3 separate regions of the Homo sapiens genome follow, and regions 1 and 3 are each linked to region 2. Evidence: promoter capture Hi-C in 16 types of primary human blood cells and fetal thymus (Javierre and others, 2016). All regions are on one chromosome and are shown on one strand. Each heading gives the region's core, a stretch centred on a gene start or on the middle of the fragment in contact. The rest is flanking DNA. Distances are from core to core; before and after follow the strand shown.

Region 1 (3,188 bases), core at 281-2,780, 2.5 Mb after region 2:
AAAATACAAAAATTAGCTGGGTGTGGTGGCATGTATCTGTAGTCCCAGCTACTTGGGAGGCTGAAGTGGGAGGATTGCTTGAGCCCAGGAGGCCACAACTGCAGTGAGCTGTATCACACAACTGCACTCCAGCGAGGGTAACAGAATAAGACTCTGTCTAAAATTAGCCAGGCATGGTGATGCATGCCTGTGGTACCAGCTACAAGGAAAGCTGAGATGGCAGGACTGCTTGAGCCCAGAAGGTCAAGGCTGAAATGAGCAGTGTTTGTGGCACTGCACTTCAGCCTGGGTGACAGAGCAAGATCCTGTCTCAAAAAACCAAAAAACCTTTGAACCACTTCTATCAGTAGATCCTGAAACACTGGCTTTGGAATGGCTGTTTTGTTTACTTCAAAGGAGCTGATTTAAAAGGCCAGAAAACAGTAAAAAAAAAAATTAACGAAACAGTGATTTAACATTTGACATTTTAAACTGTACCTCCAAAGTTAAAGTTAAAACACAAATGAACCCACTTATCATCATGTGCATCCTGAGGTGATGTCAACATGAGATACTGTACAAGACAACTGATCTAATTTCTTCAAAAGTCAATTGCTTTTAAAAAGGGGGGAAGAATAAGTAAGGGGGATTTGCTCTAGTTCAAGAGAATCAGTGGTCAGGTGCAGTGGCTCACACCTGTAATCCTAGCGTTTTGGGAAGCCAAAGCGGGCGATCACTTGAGCCCATGAGTTTGAGGCCAGCCAGGGCAACACAGCAAGACCCCACCTACAAACACACACGCACGCACGCACACACACATACACACAGCCAGGTGTGGCGGCACATGCCTATTGTTCTAGCTAGTTGGGAGGATGAGGCGAGACGATTGCTTGAGCCCAGGAATTCAAGGCTGTAGTGAGCTATCATCATGCCACTGCACTCCAGCCTGGGTGACAGAATAAGACCCTGTGTCTTAAAAAAAAAAAAAAAACACACACACACACAGAGAATTATGGACATAACAATCAAATGCAGTGTGTAGACCTTATCTGGATTCTGTATTTTTGTCCGGTGTGCTGGCTCACACCTGTAATCCCAGCACTTTTGGAGGCCGAGGTGGGTGAATGACTTGAGTCCGGGAGTTCTAGACCAGCCTGGCCAACATGGTAAAACCTTGTCTCTACTAAAAATACAAAACTTAGCTGGGCATGGTGGCGCATGCCTCTAGTTCCAGCTACTCAGGAGGCTGAGGCAGGAGGATCACATGAAACTGGGAGGCAGAGAGAGGATGCAGTGAGCCAAGATCACACCACCGCACTCCAGCCTAGGCGGCAGAGTGAAACTCCGTTGCCAAAAAAAAAAAGGCTATTTTTGGTATAATTGGGAAAATGCTATTATGAACTGTTATTAGATAATATACTATTGCTAACAGTGTTAGATATAACATTGAAATTATGTAAAAAAATTTTTTTAAAAGATGCATACTAAAAAAAACCCAGATGAAGCAAATATAACAGATGTTACATTTTATATATAAATGTGTTAATCTAGCTGCTCTAGGTACTCTGTCTATGGGTTAGTCCCTGCCCCACAAGGAGCAGTCAAGCCGGATGCGGTGGCTCACGCCTGTAATCCCAGCACTTTGGGAGGCCGAGGCGGGCGGATCACAAGGTCGAGAGATCGAGACCACCCTGGCCAACATGGTGAAACCCCGTCTCTACTAAAAATACAAAAAAAGCCGGGCATGGTGGCAGGCGCCTGTAATCCCAGCTACTTGGGAGGCTGAGGCAGGAGAATCGCTTAAACCAGGGAGGCAGAGGTTGCAGTGAGCCAAGATCGTGCCATTGCACTCTAGCCTAGGCAAAAAGAGTGAAACTCTGTCTCAAAAAAAAAAAAAAGGAGCAGTCGAAAAAAAATTGTTAATCTAAATTATGGGCATTTGATGGCTCACTACACTACTCTCTCTACTTTTCTATGTTTGGATAACTTTTCAGTCATATTACAGCACATTCATCAAAATGACTTAATGTGTAACACTTCTGCATCATTAGTATCTGCTTTACTCACCGATTACCAATTTCTTCCCTGTGTTTCAACAGGGCTTGGTTGGCCATTTCTGGTTCTTCAAATTGCACATAGGCTTCCCCTGTTTTTCGCCTCCCTCTATAGTCCATCACAAAAGTAATGTCAACTATATTCAGTCCTAGGACACCAAGAGATTTTAATGCTACTAGCAGGCTTTTTTATCCTTAGAATTAACACCATCATTCACATACTAATAAAATTTTTATTCTGTTTTGCCAGTCCCAAAACTGAATACATGCTTGACAGGAAGAAAATTATTATGCAGTCAAAAGTCAGTCAACACCTACATACTTGTATTTCCAGAATAGGTAAGGTCCAAGAAGCCCACCCAAAACATACAATTCTCCCCACCAGTTTTTTTTTTTTTTTTTGCTGTTAATTATATACTAGGAAACAATAGAAATCACAGACTTCACTGCTAATGGTTCTAGGAATTAGAAAATACTTTTAAATTATATAAATTGTTATTGTCTTACACAAATACAGCAACTATTATGAGAAGTTATTTCCTTCAATAGTAAAACCCTCATGAAATTATTCTGAAATCTGACTTCCCTCCTAAAATCTGCCTGATAGAACAAAAACACATATAAAATCTATAAATATTAGAAATTTAAGTGAAGAGCTCTCCCCTAAAGAACCTAATATAACTGCATGCCTTTGCCCAGAAACAGGCTCATCTAAGATATAGAAGGAGATACCAAGGGAAAAAAGATATGAGCTCCCAAGCATAATACAACTGCAAAGTACCTGCAAAGAAGTCTACAATGTCTTTCTCATTGCAACTATAAGGAAGTCCTCTCAAACGAACCACACCATCATTTACCACAGGCGAAGATTTGACCTGCAAGCTCTTCATTAAGGCATCCACATCTTCATTGTTTATCTCATATACTACGAAGAAAAAACCCAACAGGGATGAAAAATTTACATAACAAAGGAACAAACCCATTAAAAAAAATCATTACAACTTGCTGGGTTATCTGAGAATTCAATAACTATTTTAATCTTTATGCGCTTCTCTAGAGAAAATAACAAATGACATTTATTGCATATTTACCATGCGGGCATAACTTCTTTATTTCTCACAGCTTGTAAGATACTTCATTGGCCAGGCACACTGG
Region 2 (3,236 bases), core at 142-2,641:
TACACGCCTAATGTAACTTGACTCTAGAGCCCACTTAACAACCCCCGACAAAAAAACCCCAAATCAATTAGGCACACAGAAGAGATGTGTGAGACACAGAGCAGCGACCGTGTCATATTTTTAACTATAATCTTTCCAAGACTATTATGTTAATCTTAGGGTTGAAAAAGATCTTAAAGCAGCATTTAATCTAGACCACTCTCCAGAGAGACACTGATCTAGGACCTACATTAATATCTCTAGGGCTTGGGAACTTAGTATTACTATCTTTCCATTACAGCAACGTCAGTTCTCTCTACATTTCACTGAAATTTATCCCTCCAACTCTCTGTAACTTGCATTCATTTGTTTCTGACTGTACCCTCTGGGAGCTACACACGGTTTTTCTAACATAATAGCACCCAGGATTTCTTTGCCAGCCTAAGTCACACAGTCATCTTTCCAAACTAAGTATTCCTTTTTCCAAGTACTATGTTTTTCCAAAATAAGTATTCGAGGAACAAAACGGGTAATTCACTTTGCCTATTTAACAGGAACAGCCAGAAGTTATTTGCAGATATTTCTCAAGATTAATAACCTGCCAGTGCCACTTCCTAAACTTGCTCACTTACCACACCACCAGTGTTGATCGCGGCATTAGGGGTTTTCAAATTTTAGCCTAACAGAAATGGTTGTCCTGAAAATACGCGTTACATCCGCATGATCCTACCAGGAAATAAACCTAGGAGCTTGCAACTCAGAAAGGGCCCCTCTCAGCCCAAGACAGCTAAACGGAAAGTCAAGCGTGAAATCCGCATCAAAGAAAAACCCTACTGAGATGAAGTGCTAGGCCATATGGAGACTGAGGACGAAAGGGCAGGCCTGGTCTCCGCCAGAGTCTAAGTGTCTCGGTGGGGGCCACCGGCTCCTCGCGAGGCCAGCTAACCTCCCCAACCCCCACCCCCCACCCCCAACGACGACCACTGCTCCATCACCCCACTCCCGGGCCCCAGCCTCGCCTCGGCCCGTCATCTTTCTCCGCACTAACCTTTCTCCTCCCGACTGTCAGCCGCCATGGCTCCCCTTCGGTTTCCGCCGCTGCCACCGCCGCCGCCGCTTAGACGCGACTCGCGCGGGCGCCGCAGCCGCGGCAGAAGCACGGGCCCGTCCGTCAGTCCGTCTGCCCGGATACGCGCGTCGCACTTGGCCTCTTAACACTCAGCCTTCTCGACTCTTCCCGCTTTTTCCCTTTCTCCCTTCCTTTCACTCCAGCATCCAGCGGCCTAGGCCCAGCCTTCTCGTTAGGGCTCAGACTCGGGCTAGGTATGGGGGAGGGAAGGGAAACAGATGGCGACGGCGGGCGGCGCTAAAATGGAGCCTGCTTCCTGCGCGAAACAATCCCGCTCCCGAAATGCCCTGCGCTGTTTACGCTTCGTTCCTCTCTGGGAACGTCACAGTGCGGAGAGGGGCGGGGAGGCGGGGACGTGCAAAGGAACGTGACGTGACGTCAGCGCGTCGCCCTGCCGCCCTCAGCCCACTGGTACCTGGAAGGAGTCTTATTCAGGGATTAGGTTACCCAGGTTGTTCATGGAGTTCCCGCTGTACGGCCTATAACTGGATGGCGCAATTTTCCCACCTGAAACTCTTAGTGCAGGGCCTAACAGGCCTTCTTAGCTAGAGTCGCTCTAAAGGACTCCTGATTCAGTTCGGGTAATCGGAGTCTTATTTAGGACAAGTCTGGGTGAATCCCTTATGTTTACCAGATGTACTTTCTTAGTTGGAGTTCCACTCTTACCCAAAGGCAGTGCAGCATGCAACCAGCTTGTTTGTAGTCACAAAAGCCTGCTAGTTTTTGTTTGTTTTGAGACGGAGTCTCGCTCTGTCGCTAGGTTGGAGTGCAGCAGCGCGATCTCGGCTCACCGCAACCTCCGCCTCCCAGGTTCAAGCGATTCTCCTGGCTCTGCCTCCTGAGTAGCTGGGACTACAGGCGCCCGCCACCACGCCCAGTTAATTTTTTTATTTTTAGTAGAGACGGGATTTCACCATGTTGGCCAGGATGAAGTGCTGGGATTACAGGCGTGAGCTACCACGCCCGGCCTAGTTTTGTTTTTAATTGGGGAAAGAATTGTATCATAATAGGTCTTTGTAATTAATAACTAATTTAAACATGTTATCAAGGCCCTGGGGCACAAAATTGATTTAAGCAGACCATCGAGGAATCGAAACTACAGAATAAATGACCAGTAGATACATAACTACATAGTGTGGTAAAATCTGCAAGAGAAACTTGCTTAAGATTCATTGTCCAACGGAAACAATCTAATTTTGCTTCCTTGAACTATAACTGAGTTATAAGGGAAAGAAAAATCTGAAAAAGGTAACTAAGTAACTTCGTGATATGAAGACAAACTGGCAAACTAACTGCATATTCAGGGAAAGACAAGTAGTCTAGAAGTCTAGAATGTGGTACCTCTTTTTTTTTGAGACGTGGTCTCACTGTGACACAGGCTGGAGTGCAGTGGTGTGATCATGGCTCACTGCAACCTTGGGCTCAAGTGATCCTCCCACCTTAACCTCCCAGGTAGCTGGAACTACAGGCATGCTCCACCACATCCGACACATTTTTTGCATTTTTTGTGGAGATATACCATCTCCGCAAGATGGCTAACACCTAGCCATCTTGCCCAGGCTAGTGTCTAAATCCTGGGCTCCAGCAATCCTCCCACCTCGGCCTCCCAAAGTGCGGGATTACAGGTGTGAAGCCACCAGGAGTGGCCCCATTTCTAGGACCTTAATTGAACACTAATTTGAATATACGAACACGCACACGCCACAAACACACACACACACACACATTAAATAATATCTGATGATCCTGAGGAATTGCTATTTGTATTTTTAGTTTTAATAAGTTTTGCTTTTTAAAGAATTTCTTATAATTTCATGATTCATATGAAAATATTTGCAGGCCAGATGCAGTGGCTCATACCTGTAATCCCAGCACTTCGGGAGGCCCAGGCGGGCGGATCACCTGTGGTCAGGAGTTTGAGACCAGCCTGACCAATATGGTGAAACCCCGTCTCTGCTAAAAATACAAAAATTAGCCAGGCATGATGGCATGCGCCTGTAGTCCCAGCTACTCGGGAGGCTAAGGCAGAATTGCTTGAACCCGGGAGGCGGAGGTTGCAGTGAGCTGAGATTGTGCCACTTTCACCCCAACCAGGACAACAGAGCTAGACTCTGTCTCAAAATAATAA
Region 3 (3,188 bases), core at 571-3,070, 2.6 Mb after region 2:
CAGTTGCTCAAAGTCACTAATGGTATTTGGGAGAAAGACTAGTTGAAATGCTAGCCAATGCTGTTGTGGACTGTGTCTGCATGCTTTAAAAACGCCCTGTGGGCCGGGCGCGGTGGCTCACGCCTGTAATCCCAGCACTTAGGGAGGCCGAGGTGGGCGGATCACGAGCTCAGGAGTTGAGACCTGCCTGGCCAATGTGGGGAAACCCCATCTCTACTAAAAAATACATTAAAAAATTAGCCGGGCACGGTGGCGCTTGCCTGTTGTCCCAGTTACTCGGGAGGCTGAGGCAGGAGAATTGCTTGAATCCGAGAGGCGGACTGTGCCACTGCACTCCAGCCTGGGCGACAGAGCAAGACTCCGTCTCAAAAAATAAAAAAATAAAAACACTCTGTTATTCATTTATTGTGTGTAAAGAAATATATATTGTAAAATTACCTACATTTTGATAATTAGGTTCATTTACCTCTGTTGTACTAAATGTATTATAAGTTGTTAATCCCTTATATAACATCTGCAATGAGCATTTTGCAACACAAAGATTCTAATTAATTATTCCTCTAAGGTTTAAACAACCATGTTTAGTAGAAGTTTTACTAAGAAATTGTACATGCTCCTGTTACAGCATGATGAATACAGTGTCACATTTTCTTGATGACCTCAGTCCACTTCACAAGCATGTAGTAAAACAGCTTTCTTTGCTAAGCTGTATACATCTGATGGCTCCTATGCTCTTCTAGTATGTTATTTTGCTTTCAGATTTCAGATTTGCAGGAAGCACACTGACTCCCACTCTTGCATTTATGATGGCTTCTGTACCCCGTTTTCTAGGCACTAATGAAGATTACAAGGGGAAATTTATAACCAAGCTTATTAAGTTGATAAATATCATTTTACAGAAGTAGTTGAGTTTGTGTAGACAAACTCATGGGCTGTGTAACCACTACTTAATGTTCAGGGTCTCTTATTTTTTCTGCTTTTTATTATTTTCTGGGTTGATTTAGTTTTCCTAATAAACCTGTATGTTGTCAGTCAGAACGCTGTCTCATTCTTTAGTTACACTAGAATTCCCACAGGAGAAAATTCCCAAATTGAAGGAGTAGTAAAATTTCTGGTAAGAAAGGATTAGGTGGCAGCACGATCATGACTGGCTGGGTGCGCTGTATCCTGTCTCTTATCTGCAGTTTCAAAACCTGAAAAGCTCAGAAAACCAAAATTTTTTTGTTTGTTTTTTTGAGACGGGGTCTCACTCTCATCCAGGCTGGAGTGCAGTGGCATGATCTTGGCTTAATGCAACTTCCGCCTCCCGGGTGCAAGCGATTCTCCAGCTTCAGCCTCCCGAGTAGCTGGGACCACAGGCACACACCACCACGCCCGGCTAGTTTTTGTATCTTTAGTAGAGACAGGGTTTCGCCATGTTGGCCAGGTTGGTCTCGAACTCCTGAACTCAGGTAATCTGTCCATCTCGGCCTCCCACAGTGTTGGGATTACAGGCGTGAGCCACCGTGCTTGGCCCCAAAGGTATTTTTTTTGAATTCAGTGCAAACTTATTCTGACCAGATGTTAATAGTCTTTATCCCACTTCATGTTAACACTCTTTGTTTCACTGCAAAATATTAGTGCATTTGATTTAACACCTCTGCAGGGGGAGTGGGGGTGCTTACTTAATAATTAATATACAGTATATGCACTGTATCGTTTCTAAAGTTTCGATTCCAAATTTTATTATTGAGACGGGGTCTTGCTGCTGTGTCACTCAGGCTGGCATGCAGTGGCGCGATCATAGCTTACTAAAGCTAAAACTTTGCAGGCCCAAACCATCCTCCCACCTCAGCCTCCTGAGTAGCTGGGACCACAGGTGTGTGCCACCACAACCAGCTAATTTTTGTATTTTTTCTATTAGTTTCGCCATGTTTCCCTGGTTGGTCTCGAATTCCTGAGCTCAAGCATTCCAGAGTACCTCCCAAAGTGCTGGGATTATAGGCAAGAGCCACTGCGTCCAGCCAGTTCCAAAGTTTAGAATTTCTTTTCTAAAAATCTTTTCTAAAAGTTTTAAATTCTGAAACATCTGGCTGCCAGGGTTTTAGATAAGAGATTGTGGACCAAAAATCAAGATGTTTTGAAAAGTGCTTTTCTCTGTTCTCTCCTTGTGTTACCCCCAGGTCATGTAGGAAAATGGGAAATTATGCTGGACTTAATGCCAAAAAAGCTAGATTCTTTGCTTCCCCCATTTACTTTGTTGTTGTTAGTTGAGACAGGATCTCACTGGAGTACAGTGGCATGATCTTGGCTCACTGCAGCCTTGACTCCCTGGCTTCGGTAATTCTCCCACCTCAGCCTCCCAAATAGTTGGGACTACAGGCGCCTGGCTAATTTTTCTATTTTTTGTAGAGACAAGAGTTTTGCCATGTTGCCCAGGCTAGTCTCAAACTCCTGGGCTCAAGCGATTCACCTGCCTCGGCCTCCCACATTTGTATTTTTCAAAGTATACTCTTAAGCTCAGATGAATTCAAGTTTTTGCAGCCAGAAACTGGTAGAACTGGTGTTTGAAATCTTTCATTTTCCAGTGCTTAAACTCTTCATCATTGTAAGATACTTCTTGTGTGGGTCTTTTTTGTGGAAACCACACTTGGAGATTTCTACTCCTTAACCCCAAGCCTCTTTATGACATCCATCCAGGACCAGCTCTGCTTTCCTGTTGAAGGTCTCAAGAGACTTGCCTTCCTCCTCTCGGTAGCTGCCAGTACTCTTACCATTTCATGAGTTTTCCCCCAAGCTTGGCTGTGAAATGTGATACCTATTAGCTTCCGCAGCACCTTTCTCCCAACTTCCTTGCTATACCTGATGACAACTCTTCAGGCCTCTTATATTCCTAGGATCTTGCTATTAATCACTATAGGGATAAGTAAAAGTAATATATACAAAATAATTGCATAACAGAATAATATAGGGCAGTTACATAGAATGATTCTTGCTGTTTAATCCTGGAAAATGTGATCCCCGAGGATTCACATTTTAATTTCTGCTCTTTATTTCTGAGGATGGAGTCACCGTTTTCCCCTTCTGGCTACACATTTAGATGCATTTCAGGTCTGATGATAGTTGCAATGTAAAAAAGAATAGCAAGGCCTTTGGTTTCTGTAGACAATTTGGACCAGATAACTTCCAGACTGGGTAATATCCGGTTT

The links. Contacts are between HindIII fragments. The CHiCAGO score rates a contact against its expected background, and 5 or more counts as called.
Region 1: a contact is called between a fragment that was not itself captured here and the fragment with the promoter of YTHDC1 in region 2, in 1 of 17 cell types (total CD8 T cells). The highest score is 6.3, in total CD8 T cells.
Region 3: a contact is called between a fragment that was not itself captured here and the fragment with the promoter of YTHDC1 in region 2, in 1 of 17 cell types (total B cells). The highest score is 6.0, in total B cells.

The regions. Positions count from the first base shown.
Region 1 is chr4:70,829,493-70,832,680 of GRCh38, forward strand. GRSF1 (G-rich RNA sequence binding factor 1) reads right to left here. Exons shown (of 10, transcript NM_002092.4): 4 at 2,815-2,958; 5 at 2,047-2,182. Among named protein-coding and RNA genes, the nearest start is that of GRSF1, 8.8 kb to the right of the region's middle. The HindIII fragment of the contact is 4,925 bases long and covers 1-3,188 here.
Region 2 is chr4:68,348,699-68,351,934 of GRCh38, forward strand. YTHDC1 (YTH N6-methyladenosine RNA binding protein C1) reads right to left here and starts at 1,392. Exons shown (of 17, transcript NM_001031732.4): 1 at 1,028-1,392. The coding sequence starts at 1,055. RefSeq lists an enhancer at 761-1,340. The HindIII fragment of the contact is 7,711 bases long and covers 1-3,236 here.
Region 3 is chr4:70,989,036-70,992,223 of GRCh38, forward strand. No RefSeq gene overlaps it. Among named protein-coding and RNA genes, the nearest start is that of DCK, 3.0 kb to the right of the region's middle. The HindIII fragment of the contact is 1,907 bases long and covers 868-2,774 here.